Regions from separate parts of the Homo sapiens genome. Here all the other regions are linked to region 4. The links are contacts of gene promoters, found by promoter capture Hi-C in blood cells and fetal thymus (Javierre and others, 2016). All regions are on one chromosome and are shown on one strand. The core of a region is centred on a gene start or on the middle of the fragment in contact, and the rest is flanking DNA. Distances in the headings are between cores, read along the strand shown.

The links. Contacts are between HindIII fragments. The CHiCAGO score rates a contact against its expected background, and 5 or more counts as called.
Region 1: a fragment that was not itself captured here is called in contact with the fragment with the promoter of PCSK5 in region 4 in 2 of 17 cell types (fetal thymus and non-activated CD4 T cells); the score reaches 6.1 in fetal thymus.
Region 2: a fragment that was not itself captured here is called in contact with the fragment with the promoter of PCSK5 in region 4 in 1 of 17 cell types (non-activated CD4 T cells); the score reaches 5.2 in non-activated CD4 T cells.
Region 3: a contact is called between a fragment that was not itself captured here and the fragment with the promoter of PCSK5 in region 4, in 1 of 17 cell types (non-activated CD4 T cells). The highest score is 5.0, in non-activated CD4 T cells.
Region 5: a fragment that was not itself captured here is called in contact with the fragment with the promoter of PCSK5 in region 4 in 1 of 17 cell types (non-activated CD4 T cells); the score reaches 5.1 in non-activated CD4 T cells.

The regions. Positions count from the first base shown.
Region 1 is chr9:76,031,070-76,033,769 of GRCh38, forward strand. The region is part of intron 5 of PCSK5 (proprotein convertase subtilisin/kexin type 5); the gene reads left to right. Among named protein-coding and RNA genes, the nearest start is that of PCSK5, 140 kb to the left of the region's middle. The HindIII fragment of the contact is 1,268 bases long and covers 678-1,945 here.
Region 2 is chr9:76,111,570-76,114,269 of GRCh38, forward strand. The region is part of intron 9 of PCSK5 (proprotein convertase subtilisin/kexin type 5); the gene reads left to right. Among named protein-coding and RNA genes, the nearest start is that of PCSK5, 220 kb to the left of the region's middle. The HindIII fragment of the contact is 1,877 bases long and covers 471-2,347 here.
Region 3 is chr9:76,142,841-76,145,540 of GRCh38, forward strand. The region is part of intron 10 of PCSK5 (proprotein convertase subtilisin/kexin type 5); the gene reads left to right. Among named protein-coding and RNA genes, the nearest start is that of RFK, 250 kb to the right of the region's middle. The HindIII fragment of the contact is 2,168 bases long and covers 286-2,453 here.
Region 4 is chr9:75,889,352-75,892,051 of GRCh38, forward strand. It overlaps PCSK5 (proprotein convertase subtilisin/kexin type 5), which reads left to right and starts at 1,322. Exons shown (of 38, transcript NM_001372043.1): 1 at 1,322-2,022. The coding sequence starts at 1,831. The HindIII fragment of the contact is 12,342 bases long and covers 1-2,700 here.
Region 5 is chr9:76,086,872-76,089,571 of GRCh38, forward strand. The region is part of intron 7 of PCSK5 (proprotein convertase subtilisin/kexin type 5); the gene reads left to right. Among named protein-coding and RNA genes, the nearest start is that of PCSK5, 200 kb to the left of the region's middle. The HindIII fragment of the contact is 2,725 bases long and covers 1-2,691 here.

The DNA of each region.
Region 1 (2,700 bases), core at 62-2,561, 140 kb after region 4:
TTACCTTTAGCTCCTCTCAGTAGTTCTGCCTGATTTTTTTTCTCAGCTGACCAAGAGCATGTAGTCAGGCATTTAGGATTAAAATGCCCTCTTTGCTCATTAGACCATAATAATGGATATGATCAATGGATCTATCTTTAAGCATGAATCCACAGATAGATAACTCTGTTTGGATAGTGGCCACCTAGAGTTAGGAAATGAGTAGCTTTGTAGTTTAGAGAAGTTGACTTTTAGCCTTGGCTCTCCTTGATTATCTTTATGGTCTTTTGAGCTAACAACTGAGCTTTCAGTACTTTCTAAAAAGTCTCTAGAATGGGCATAATAATACTTCCCTCTAGGCTGGGCACAGTGACTCACACCTGTATCCCAGTACTTTGGGAGGCCAAGGCTGGAGGATCACTTGAGTCCAGGAGATTGAGACCAGCCTGGGAAACATAGGGAGACCCTGTTTCTACTAAATACATAAATAAATAGCCAGGTGTGGTGGCATGCACCTGTGGTCCCAGAAACTTGGGAGGCTGAGATAGAAGGATTGCTTTAGCCTAGGAGGTCAAGGTTGCAGTGAGCCAAGATTGTGCCACTGCACTCCAGCCTGGGCGAAAGAGCGAGACCCTGTCTCAAAAAATAATAATAATAAAATACCTCTAAAGATTATCAATAAAATGTGTAAAATACCAAGCTTACTACATAATAGATGCTACATAATTACAGTTGTTATTATTATAATTGTGTGTTCTATTCATATATCTAATTCTTGATAAATAACTAGTTAAAAATTACAGTTATCTCAAAATATGTGTGCCTATGAACACTTCAAATTTAAATTAAGACTTGGGGTTTATTTCCGGAGTTAGAAGTTGAGATAGGTTTGTCTGCGTCCTTGGGGGACTTAAGGTTTATTTCCAGGGTTAGAAGTTGAGATAGGTTTGTCTGCTTCCTTGGGGCTGGGAGCTGTGGCTCTTTTCCGTCTACAGTAAATCTGCTTTTCTTTAATTCCATTTTCCCATCTCCCTTAGTAGAGCATGAGTCCTTGAATTTGATATAAAATAGTGAAGGTGAGGAATTTGTAATTATCATCAGAATAAGGAAGTTGAGGCATGTGCTATGCAAATGCCTCCTCACTGAACAATCAGACCAGTAGGCTTCAGAACATATTTGGAATTATGTCATACTTGCCTGCGTTTGTTTATTCATTCAAGCAGTATTCATTAAGACGCTGCTTGGCGAGTGGCTCTGTGCTAAATACCTGGGGAATCAATGATGAAATAGTATAGATTATTAATGGGCTGAATTGGGAGAAAATTTAGTAAGAAACTCTAATGCCTGAAGGGTTTTTAGTACTAACAGAGGATCTAGCCTCAAAACTATGCAAATCATCTCTTAGACTTGCATGATTACATTTCTAGTGCCAAGGCTTTGGAGTGAAGGAAATCACCTCTGAAGTACAAAAGTTATAAAAATCCCTTTCTCGTCACTTTTGCAAGTTCCCAAATGGTGGTATGTCAGACTTAAATAACTGATGCTAAAGAAATAGCGTGATTAGAGGAGATCATAAAAACCCATCCTTCGATTCAGCTTTGCCTCCATTCATATTAGCTTGCCAAATAAAGCTGACTGCATTGTTCTAGGCTTAAAATAGAAAATGCCTCCCTGCAAATGAAACAGTCTGCTAGCATTTCATACTACTACTCCTATTTCCAATAAAATGAATTATTGATGTCTGAGTTATATCAGCCCCTCCCTAGGTTACTTCCTTTTAGAAGTTCTCTGCTTAAAAGTCACAGCAACATTTAGCAGGAGTTGAAACCACAGCATTATATTTTGAACGAGCGGTATGTGGGCCCAGAGTCTAATTCCTTTTCAAAATAAACCAACCTCTGGGTTAAAGACTTGTTTTCTAAAAGGAATAGATTTTTCATGTTGTTTCTTATCTCTGATTCAAGGAAGCTTTAACCAGGGTGAATGGAAGTGAATTTCGTCTAGTTCTTTAGTTTCTTGTCACACATCATTTCTGGTTTTACGAATGTTGCCATGTTGCAGAAACCAAAATGTGTCCTTCCCTTTCCCATTTCTGTAGACAAGGACTGTTGTGAGGAGATAGTGTTCCAAAGCAACCAAAAGATATAGTCAGCATTTTCCGCATATAGGGGAAATATGTTAACTTATTATAATAGTACTAGAGGAAAAAAACACACTGTAAGTCTGTGGCCTTAACACGTACAAACATTTTTTCTTTGTACCAAGGATTTGGCCAAATATGTTAAGATAAAGTTTTCCTATAGCTTAGTAGGTCAGACAAAACTTAACGAAGAAAATGAGGGTCAATATCAGAGGCTGATTTGATTTTCAAATATTTTCAAATTTTTTTCTCTAATACTTTTGCAAAATAACATCTACAGTATACTACATAGTAGATACTTGATCAATGATTATCAAATGAATTTACATAACGTGGACTACAAGTGTACATGTACATTACTAGAGGCTTAATGTATACCAAACATGCAATTGTGGAAAAAAAAAAAATCTGACACTTTCCATATACAGCTGTCTTAGTTCAGGCTGCTATCACAAAATAACTTAGACTGGGTAATTTATAAGTAATAGAAATGTAATGCTCAGTTCTGGAACCTGGGATCGAGGCACCAGCCATTTTGTTGTCTGCTGGGGGCTCAATCCTCATGAGATGGTGCCTTCTTG
Region 2 (2,700 bases), core at 159-2,658, 220 kb after region 4:
GTATGATTTTTTTTCTGGATTTTTTTTGGTAACTTTCTGGTGTTTCAGCTAAATGAATAGGGAACATGTAACCAGTGATTATAGGATATCATTTGGGCGATTGCTGCTTAAAATGATGTCTTTTTACATAGCCTAACTCAAAAAGTTCAAATAAAATGAGTATGCAAGGAAGCAGGTTTATTAAATGAAAAACCAAAATGAAAGATGGCTGTACTAATTTTAGCTTAGCAACCTGGCAGAACACCTTATGTTTGAAAAGTGTTTTGCATCTAGGTCCTAGTATATGTTCCCAGTGCTATAGATCTATCAGGGGGAAAAAAATAAAAGAGCTTGCTGTTAAATGATGTTTTCTATAAAATTGTTTATAAAATAAAGTCAAAATAACTAACATTCATGAAAGTACAGAGTGCTCAGAATAATAAGTTGTACTGAAAGTTTTCCTCACCCATCTGCAATTATTAGCAATGAAAAGCTTATTTTAGTGGAATATTTCATATGTAACAATATCAGCATCAACTCAGAAAATACAAAAATTAAGTTCATCAAAGAAACCTTTCTGCTTCTAATTGCAAAGGGTCTTTCATTGGAAAATTGAAGAATATATGTTCAGTAATCAAGAAATGTTACACTATACAGTGAATGGTAAATAAAGGGGACTGAGTCAGGTTGAAACTTCTGAAATTATCTAAAACTTCCTAAAAGGGTATTGGTATAAAGAATCTCGTACAAATTCTTGCTTTAAATGACCGCAAAGCCTTTTTCTTACATTTCATATCTCAGAGGCCACAAGAATACCCTGCTGTGAGAAAACCCAATATATCTAGATCTAAATTTAGAAAATAAATTAAACTAACAGCTGCTCTTCTACAGTAGAAATACACCTGGTGCATATTGAACATTAGCTGCCTCTGGTATCTTATATATACACAGACATATACACATTCACATGTTTCTAGGTAGGCTCACCTACTTTCTCCTTATTACTTATCTTTTCCCTCCTATTGCAAATTAAATTTAAATTCCTTGAGAGTAAGGATTATATCTTATCTTTATTTATGAGTATATAACAAATATATTGAACACTACAAAAAAATTAAAGCATCATACTAGGCACTAAGTTACTCAGGACATAATTCAAATATGTATAAAATATTATATATCACTTGCTTTCAGGGGATTTTATATTCTCATTAGGGAAGCAAATGTACACTAACAGATATATGCAAATTATTTAAGGAAGTCAATGAAATCGTTCTGGGGGAAGGGTTGTAGGGGGTGCAGGACTTGGATGAAAATAAAAATGCCCAGCTTTGATGATTCAAATTGGAACATTGGTTCCATAGAAATTTGTATCCTCCACGACACCTAAGCATAATGTTTTGAACAAGGTCCATTCTCAACAAATATTAAATTAATTCGTCTAGTCCAACCTTACCTTTTGTACAATGGAACTGAGTCCTAGAGAAGTTCAATTGCTCAATTAGTTACTTTTACCGTCCATATCCTTTAGTTGATATTCATTAGTGACTTCTTTCTCCCATACTGCCTCAACTCGTCTCTCATCCTGTTGATTTATCATTTGCTAGAAGTGGACCTCACCTGGCTAAAATAAAGACATGAATGTTATTCCCTCTCTCACCTTCCAAGGGAATCCCCTCTACCTTTTGTCTTTGGAGGAAGGGATCATTCGAGACAAGGAAAGGTCAAAGTGTGAGAAGTTAAAGGAGTGTTGAGCCAAAGGATGATTCACACCGTATGCTGTTGATTTCACAAATCACATCTTGAAAATTTTCTCAGGAAATTAAACTGACCATCTGCATTTCTTGTAAACCTAAAAAGTCCGTCTATATAAATCTTACATAATTCAGATGAATCAACCACTCTATGTCTTTGTTTCACCTTTCATTATAATCTCTCTTACCTACATGTTTCCAGCGTTGGAAAATTGTAGGGAAATGACCAGAATATTTGGGATACAGTGACTGTGAGAAGTTAATATGTGGGACAGTCGAGAAGGGTTCTGGAGTTTTAAACAAGCCAGCTCTGAGTTGAAGTACTCACTGGGGCGAGGGGTGCTTCATATTTTTAGAACTGAGCACTGTTAAGGGAGGCCACATAGGAAGGATAGACATAAACATTTCTTAATATTGGGGTTAGCATCTTAGTACTGATATCCTGTAAACTAGTCTTATCATCTGTGTATTTTTTTAAATTAAAAACACATTTTAGTATAAAATGTCTCATTAAAAATTTTCCCGAGGGCCACATTCAACTCTATGAGATGCTGCAGTGGGCAGGGAGCACAAGTGTATTTGCTTATTGAGGTAAAATTGCAGAGGGCATACCAAGCTTTTCCTTTTAAGAGAGTTTTATTTATTTCAATTAGAACTTAGAAAGTACTTGCACAGAGAGAAATACAAGCATATGTGCCCTGATTCCACACAGTTACAAGGGTAAAGAAGCAGGTATTCCACACACCCTTCCTTTCATATACTCTTAGAGTTTTTTTGTGTATTGGAGTGTTGTATGTTGGGCTTAAAATTTTGCTGAAATTTCTGGTATGAATGCTTGGGGTATACAGCCTGAAGAGGGTGAAGAGAATTAAAAGAAAACAAGGGAGGAGAGCTGAAAAGGTTTATAAGGTAAAAACAATGCACATTTCGACTTGAGGCCTAGCGGACAGAGAAGGGATGTACTGTC
Region 3 (2,700 bases), core at 120-2,619, 250 kb after region 4:
AGTCTGTTTTCTCTAATTTGGGCTATTGTTTTCATTTCATATTGTCAGTGATTTTAGTTGATGGTTCTGGATAAATTATTAACCTCCTTATTTTCTCTTTTTCATAAGATTACTTGGATTTCAATAAACAATAAATGGCCTCAAAAGTGTTGGAAAAAGCATAATCTGCCAATGATTATGAATTATATTAATGTCATACACCTAACCTAAATAAAGCACAAATAAGTACAGTGAGAGGGTGAAAGATGTTTGAGAACTTGAGGGTTACCAAAAGTTGGGGAACCAAGCTTATCTGGAATACCGTAGTTTCTTTTAGTTTAAACAAATGCCTTCTTTTGTTTGTGTTTCTCGGGGACTGGAAATTATAACTGGAGGAGACAGCCATGGTGAAGGCAACAGGTCAGGGGAAGGGGCAAAAGAGAGGGCTCAGTGTACAAAAAGGACAGGTATGGTGTGATGAGGAAAGTAATCTAAAAGAAATCAAAAGCAAAGCTACTTGAATCCTGCAGTTAGGAGTTCTCATTTCATTTGAAAAACATTTTGGAGCCGCTGCGGTGATTGAGAAAGTGAGCTAGATGATAGTAATGACTTTCAAACAAGTTGATTCAAGTTGCTAGTCTGATGTCAAAAAGAATATTATTTCTTACACTGATGGTGCGAATCCATTGTTCCTATGATATGTCTTACAAAATGGCATGTGTGTAACAAACTGACTGGTTGAAATGAAATTGTCTTGCAGTGATCATTTTGTATTATCTTAGTATGCAATTATGTATTTGTGACCTTAAGACTGAGACATTCAGCGACATTTTTTATCATCTCTTGGCCTTCTTCTAAATGAGGAAAGTTGTAGATTTGGGATATATAATCATCTTTGCTACATCCCACTTTTTTTTTTTTTTTAAGAGAAAGAAGTGCTTTTTGAAATGACTCTTTAATAAACCCCGGGCAAAGGGTGTGGTGAGAAGATTGCTTCTTGAAAAATGTCAGGTCAGAAATTGTGCTTTGAGAAGCCTTCACATATTTCCTTTGTTTGACCAAAGTCTTTTCGTTGGTTGTTATTGCTCACCATGACTTCCGAAAAGCCATCTAACTTCCCATATTTGAATTTCTTTTTAGCATACAATTGCAGTCTTTGTATTTGCCATATAACTCCACAAACATTTAAAGAGAGCAAGTATACATAATTGTGGTTAGCATCTTGAGTTGCTGTACACCTATTATGCAAGCAGAATGACAGAAGCACTTAGGGTTTATAAATGACTTTTCCTCCTTCCGAAGTATTGTATTCATATTCTTTTTCTCGGCCCTGAAGCCAACTTAGAATTTTTAGTAGTCTTAAGAAGCTGTATTGTTTTTCTGAACCCACCGGAGGTTACAATGTATATGCTTTCTTAATATACTGTATGGGATGGTTTTGTCAGGAAATCATCCGCTTCTTTTCATGTTTTACCTTCAGAAGTATATTTACAGCCAAAGTAGAAGATATGTATCCAGCTTGGTTCCAAAGTGCAATTCTATGCATCTTAGAGGCCTAAAACTCCCACTGAATTGCAGTCACATATCATGAAAGAATCAGAGAAGATAGCTAAAAACATGAGAAATGTCTGATTGTTTGACAGAGCTGCCACACCTGGTTGCATAGGTTGTTAACTGCACAAGGGAGCCAAACTAAAGGGTTGAGTGGGTGGGGACAGAAATCTGGCCTTGGATCCAGTCACCAAGGAATGTGCCCTGCAGTGGGATGATGTCCACCTTAAGGAAAGAGGTACCTTTCTCTAATCGACAGAAGTCCCACATGGGCATCCCTGTTGCATGGAATTCTGTTGTGATTTCTTCCAGAGCTAACAAAGGCACAGGTATCTTTTAAGAAGTATGCATCCAGAGATGGTTCTGTTCATTTTAATCTGCAGCCATTGCTTCAGTCTTGATACCCACAGAACCTGTTTCTTCATTGGCAAAATAACTCAGTGTTACTAGAGTCAAATAAAATTTTGCAATAGCTGGCCAGGAGTGGTGGCTTATGCCTCTAATCCCAGCACTTTGGGAGGCCGAAGTGGGCGGATCACGAGGTCAGAAGTTCAAGACCAGCCTGGCCAACATGGTGAAACCCCATCTCTACTAAAAATAAAAAATTAGCTGGGTGTGGTGGTGGGTGCCTGTAATCCCAGCTACTCAGGAAGCTGAGGCAGGAGAATCGCTTGAACCTGGGAGGCAGAGGTTGCAGTGAGCCAAGATTGTGCCGCTGCACTCCAGTCTGAGCGACAGAGCAAGACTCCATCTTAAAAAAAATAAGATTGCAATATCTGTGGCTATTTCATCACTATCTTTATCACCAGCTCTCTAAACAAAGTTTGAAGTAAAATCTCAGACTCTTAAGTGATCATAAGTGCCAAGCACAAATCTATAATTCTTTTCAGGTACTTTTTTTTACATTCAACAAAAATGATGGAAGCTTCATGAATTCAAATGTATGATTCTTTCATTTGAGTTCCAGTAGAAGTTTCATATTTGGGGTGGAGTGCTTGTAAACATTGGCATATGTTGGATACGTGAGCCCAGAGCAGCGGTGAAAAGGCTTCATTTGAAGTCTTCCATGATTATCGTCAACCTGTCTTGTGAAAATACCACCTCCCCCCCAGCTCATTTTTTCTACCAAGGCATAGAGCTTTAAATGTGAAAGGAATAAACTGTGATTGA
Region 4 (2,700 bases), core at 72-2,571:
TTAGTTCTTCTGATCTTCTATTTCTTCAGCTATAATGTGGGGATGATGTTATTTTGTGGGTTTGTTTTCAAGATTAAATAATATAGCATACCTTATACAATATGTAAAATGTCAAATGCTATGCTCAAAGGTACTAGTGGAATTTTAAGTCTGCAGGTATCTTTCAGATTTTAAAAAATCAGTACCAAAAGCTATAGGTGGGATGAGTTAATTAATCTCAAACACATTTAAATTAACAGGAAGAAAGAAATAGGGCATGGTAGGAGGAGAGAAAGGAGGACAGTTAGGGATATAGTGAATACTTTTAAAGTCAGTTGAATTATTTCATACGGGATAATTTTTCTTGTCACAGTAAATCACCCTGTGCCCCACCCCCGCTCCAGGAAGGCAGGGAGGTTGTAAAGGAGAAGCGAGAAGAGGGTTAATTTGAGCTCCCTCCTGCCTGCTGCAGTCACAGTGCATGATAGAGTAATGAAGGTGACGCCGCCACATATCTCATCTGAACTTCCTCTGTGGTCTTTTTCATATTAAAGTCTTTCACTGTTACAGGACTGTGCTTGGAAAAGTTGGGAAACTTTTCCCTTGGTGGAGAAAAAGAAGCCCTCGTCAGACGCAATCCAACAAATGAATGGAGTTATTTCCTTGGCCCAACATGTCCATCCACTAGCACACCAAATATTCATAGAAACATCTTTCCTCACTTCCAAGGCCGGAATTGTACTCTCCCGTGGCGTTGCCTAGTATCGCAGATTTCGAAAGTGAGCAGGCAACAGACTTGGCTTTCGAGCCAATTCTAGGAGTCGATGCGACTTACTGTCCTGTGTGGTAGCTTCTCCCGGGAGCAGAAAGTGTAAAATAAACAGCTGCTGAAAAGCATGAAGAATTAACGAAGTGAAAATCTCGAGTTATTTGTTCGGCAATTGACACGTAAGTGACCTCCTTAAATGCCTAGTTATTTAAGGACGTTTAGAACGAGGATGAATGAATCTTCAGGGCGGTTAATTCGCACCGGCGTGTAAATTTCTTTAGTCTTTCGGGAAGTGGCGGTAAATTCATACAAATCCAGCAGGGAGGGAAGAGAAGGGAGTAAAACCACGATCTCGGAGCGCTCTTCTCAGTCCTTTGGAAAGACTTGCCTTTACTGCCCGGAACCCTGGAGGTTACAGCTGGGCGAACCCGGAGGCGCTAGGACCTCGTCAGCGCCTGGCTGCGGCCGCTTTCAAGAGGGCGGAGGAGGGAGAGGAGGAGGGCGATGTGGGAAAGGAGGGGTGTTAAGGGGGGCGGGGGAAGTCATTTATGCAGAGCAGGAGCTGCTGCCATTGCCACTCAGAATCCTCGCGCGCTGCTCGGAGCCGGAGGGAGCGCTGGGAGCGAGCAAGCGAGCGTTTGGAGCCCGGGCCAGCAGAGGGGGCGCCCGGTCGCTGCCTGTACCGCTCCCGCTGGTCATCTCCGCCGCGCTCGGGGGCCCCGGGAGGAGCGAGACCGAGTCGGAGAGTCCGGGAGCCAAGCCGGGCGAAACCCAACTGCGGAGGACGCCCGCCCCACTCAGCCTCCTCCTGCGTCCGAGCCGGGGAGCATCGCCGAGCGCCCCACGGGCCGGAGAGCTGGGAGCACAGGTCCCGGCAGCCCCAGGGATGGTCTAGGAGCCGGCGTAAGGCTCGCTGCTCTGCTCCCTGCCGGGGCTAGCCGCCTCCTGCCGATCGCCCGGGGCTGCGAGCTGCGGCGGCCCGGGGCTGCTCGCCGGGCGGCGCAGGCCGGAGAAGTTAGTTGTGCGCGCCCTTAGTGCGCGGAACCAGCCAGCGAGCGAGGGAGCAGCGAGGCGCCGGGACCATGGGCTGGGGGAGCCGCTGCTGCTGCCCGGGACGTTTGGACCTGCTGTGCGTGCTGGCGCTGCTCGGGGGCTGCCTGCTCCCCGTGTGTCGGACGCGCGTCTACACCAACCACTGGGCAGTCAAAATCGCCGGGGGCTTCCCGGAGGCCAACCGTATCGCCAGCAAGTACGGATTCATCAACATAGGACAGGTAACGAACTACAGGCTAGCCCAGCCCTCGGCCCTGAAGCCACTGGGGGCTTCTTGTCCCCTCTGCGTGGAACCCCCTCCCCCTCTTCCAGATGTGCTCTAGCAGCTGTTGCCCTAACTCTTGGGCGATGCTCTGTCTCCTGCGCGCGCGCGCGTACGCACACACACACACACACACACACACACACACACCCCAGAGTTGCCGGGTCCGTGTTTTGTTTACTTGTCTTTTCCAAGCCACGCGGGACTGGTAGGGTCTCGGGAAAAATCCAGAGTGCCCCCGTGGTGGCTTCAGAGACGGCTGGACCTTTTGACCTGAAAAGTCGAGTAGCACTAGTAATCTGAGGCAGTCTCAGAGAGGGTGATCGTGGGGAGAGGGGGAAATTAGGTCTTTTGGGGGATAGGGGGTGAGCGCGCCTCTGATGCCTGCGGGGAAGGGAAAGCCTTTCCTGCTCGGACCTGAATTTAGCCCAGAAAGAAGTTTCCTCTTGGGCGAGAGAACCTCTGGCGCTGGAGACTCCGGAGGCGCGGGGACTGGAGCTGGAAGGGAGGAGAAAGGAGGGGGAGGGAAGAGGGGGCCGGCCCCGGTGTGAGTGCAGATTTAGGGGAGACCTCTAGGCTTTCTCGCCTTAAGCGAGGTCCGCGTGGGGGCTCCCGGAAGGGAGTTGTAGTGGGGAGG
Region 5 (2,700 bases), core at 79-2,578, 200 kb after region 4:
AGGACATTATTCAGCTCCAAAATTGTATTATTTGAAGTTCCTGAATATACAGAATATCTAAAGGTTCATCAAAATAGAATTCTTTGTATGAAAGCATATTTATTTCCATTGGTAAACACACCCAGTTTTTATTTCATCACACGTATTCTACTATTCTTTCTCCATGTAAGACTGATTTTCTTCTTCCAGTTATACTGTGAAAATAAACAAAGTAAAAGAAATCTACACAATTGTGATATTGCTGTCAGGAGCCAAGGGTCACACCAACTTGTACACTGTTTTGATAAAGTTAAGAAGCAGTGTTAAGTGTGTAAATCCTCAGTGTCAATCAACCCTTATGAAGAAAGGGCATCTCCGATAAGGAAATTGATTCTACTAAGCCTTTTGTGAGTTGATGTTCTACCAAATTTATATTCTAGCAGATATGGTGGATAAGTAACTCAATTTTTTTCTTTCTATTCACACAATAAACATAAAATTAGCTAATGATAGGGTTGTAGGCAAGTTCTGTATTTGCAGCACTGATTCATTGTCCTTGACACTAGTCTTTGACCACCTTACTCACCATTTCCAAGTGTCACTTTAGAAAACTGACCTGAAGTCCCTAAATTCAGTGCAACGTGCTCTCCATTCATGGACTAGGATATGAACAATATCATGACTAAAAGTAGCTTATAAATGGCACTTAAAATTTTGTCATTTACAGTTGATCCTATAGTCATTATTAGGCTCTCTATTTTTTTGAAAGTGAGGTCGGCTGCATTTGATATGCTCAGGAAGCACAGAAAATGGATTTTCATTTGTGAATGGTAAAATTAATATGATTGCTAATAACTGCATCTGATAACTTCAGTGCATCATTAAAAAGTCAAAAGAACATTAAAAATTTCTTGGTTTAGTGACCTATTGTGTGCACAGAAAATCATAATACGGACTACCTGGTATGGGGCTGAAAAGATAGATTGGTGAGGTTCAGATGTGGAGGAAGAGGAGGGAGTGAAGTCATGTCGCATAAGAAATGGCAAGAAGACAGAAATGAGCAGAAATAGGTTACTATCCACAAAAGCCTTCTTTGCTCCATTTTTCTCACCAGAGAAGTAGAAAATAACTGCATTTGTATTTCCCATCTCTCTCATCAGCCATCTTTTGAGTGGCTAAGTAGCATAGAATGTGAATAATGAAGGTACTCCCATACAGTGTTGTCTGGAAGCCAGTCTGAGGATGTTTAGACAGCCCTTCCTTAGAGTGTCTCTTAGGCTGCATGTGTGGGTCTGGCAGCTGACAGGCTAAAGCAGGTGCGTAAAGATTGAGACCAGTAGCAGGGCCAGGAACTGGGCTGCTGGAAGTGCTGGACATCAGCAGGTGCTGGTGGAGACCACTCACTGGTTGTTGGCTGGTTGCTGAGATCAGCTTTAGGGAGCTGTTGCTTTCCATTGGTAAGCATTTTTAATCCTGGAATTTTTGCTTGGAAACAAGTGGAATTAATGAACTGTTTCCTTTACTCAAATCACCAAATAAATAAAGCATAATTAATGAGCGTTTGCTTTAAAATACATATAATAGTTCCTCTGTTTACCTTAGTTATTCTGAGAGCACAATTATGAAATATTCGAAGTGTAGAAGCAGAACAAGAGAAACCTGGATACTCTCTACATTGCATTGGACAAAACATCTCATATTGTCTCATTCAAGTTACTTGTGGATTTTTTGAGGGGATGGATGATCTTATTCCCTGAGTCTTAACTCGATTCCATATAATTAATTTCCCTAACCTCAGCTCCATCTTACTCGGATGAACTGATTGAAAAAACAAGTCTGGGGCTTAAGTAAGCTCTTATCCCATAGATGTCTTCATACACCTTTACCACGACTACATTATCTCTGTGCATCACCAAGAATGCTTTCTCCCACCAAGTTATGATAAATGTTATCAAAAAGTTATTTAAATTGCTTAAAGAAGCAATATGTTTCAGAATTCTGGAACAAACGTTTTGTGTGAGTGCTACAAAAAACAGTAGTTTTTAAAGGGGGTTTTGGTGGTGTTCGTGAGGTTTTTTAATTTTTTTTTTTTTTTTTTGGTCTTTACATTATGTTTCTAGATGAGATCTATTTCTTTCAATGAACGCTGTTCTATAAAGCAACAAGATTTATTTCGGAAATGCTAGTCAGAATGTCCTTGAGCTTTAAAAATAGGAACAGTTCTTTATTTCTTAGCTACTAAGTCATTAGTAGTAAGTGTCCTTGTCTCTCTCCAACTTCTTCCCCTTATCCCTGGATCCCCCTTTATCCAGGTAATATGGAGTACGGAATAACCATGGCATAAAGAGCTTACACAGAGGACTGTGCTCTTTTCTCCCCGAGAGGAAGAATATCAAAAAAGATGGGGAGTGGAATGACAAGGGGCTTTGATAAGTTGGGTATTGAGGCGGTGCTTGCGAGACATCACGGATGAGTGGAAGTGCCTCATTCCAAAGTTGTTTTGTTGTGTCTCTTCAAGTCGACATATACAGATCCAGAGGTTCTGATCAGATGCAGGGTCTCGACCTCTTGTCTCTACCACGTCCTAGTTATATGATACTGGGCCTATTACTTAATGTTATCAGTTTCCTAATATGGAACAATCCATTTAGTGCTATCTACTTTGCTGATGTTGCTCTAAATTTTGCTCTAAATTAACTAACAATATGTGAAAGCTTCTAG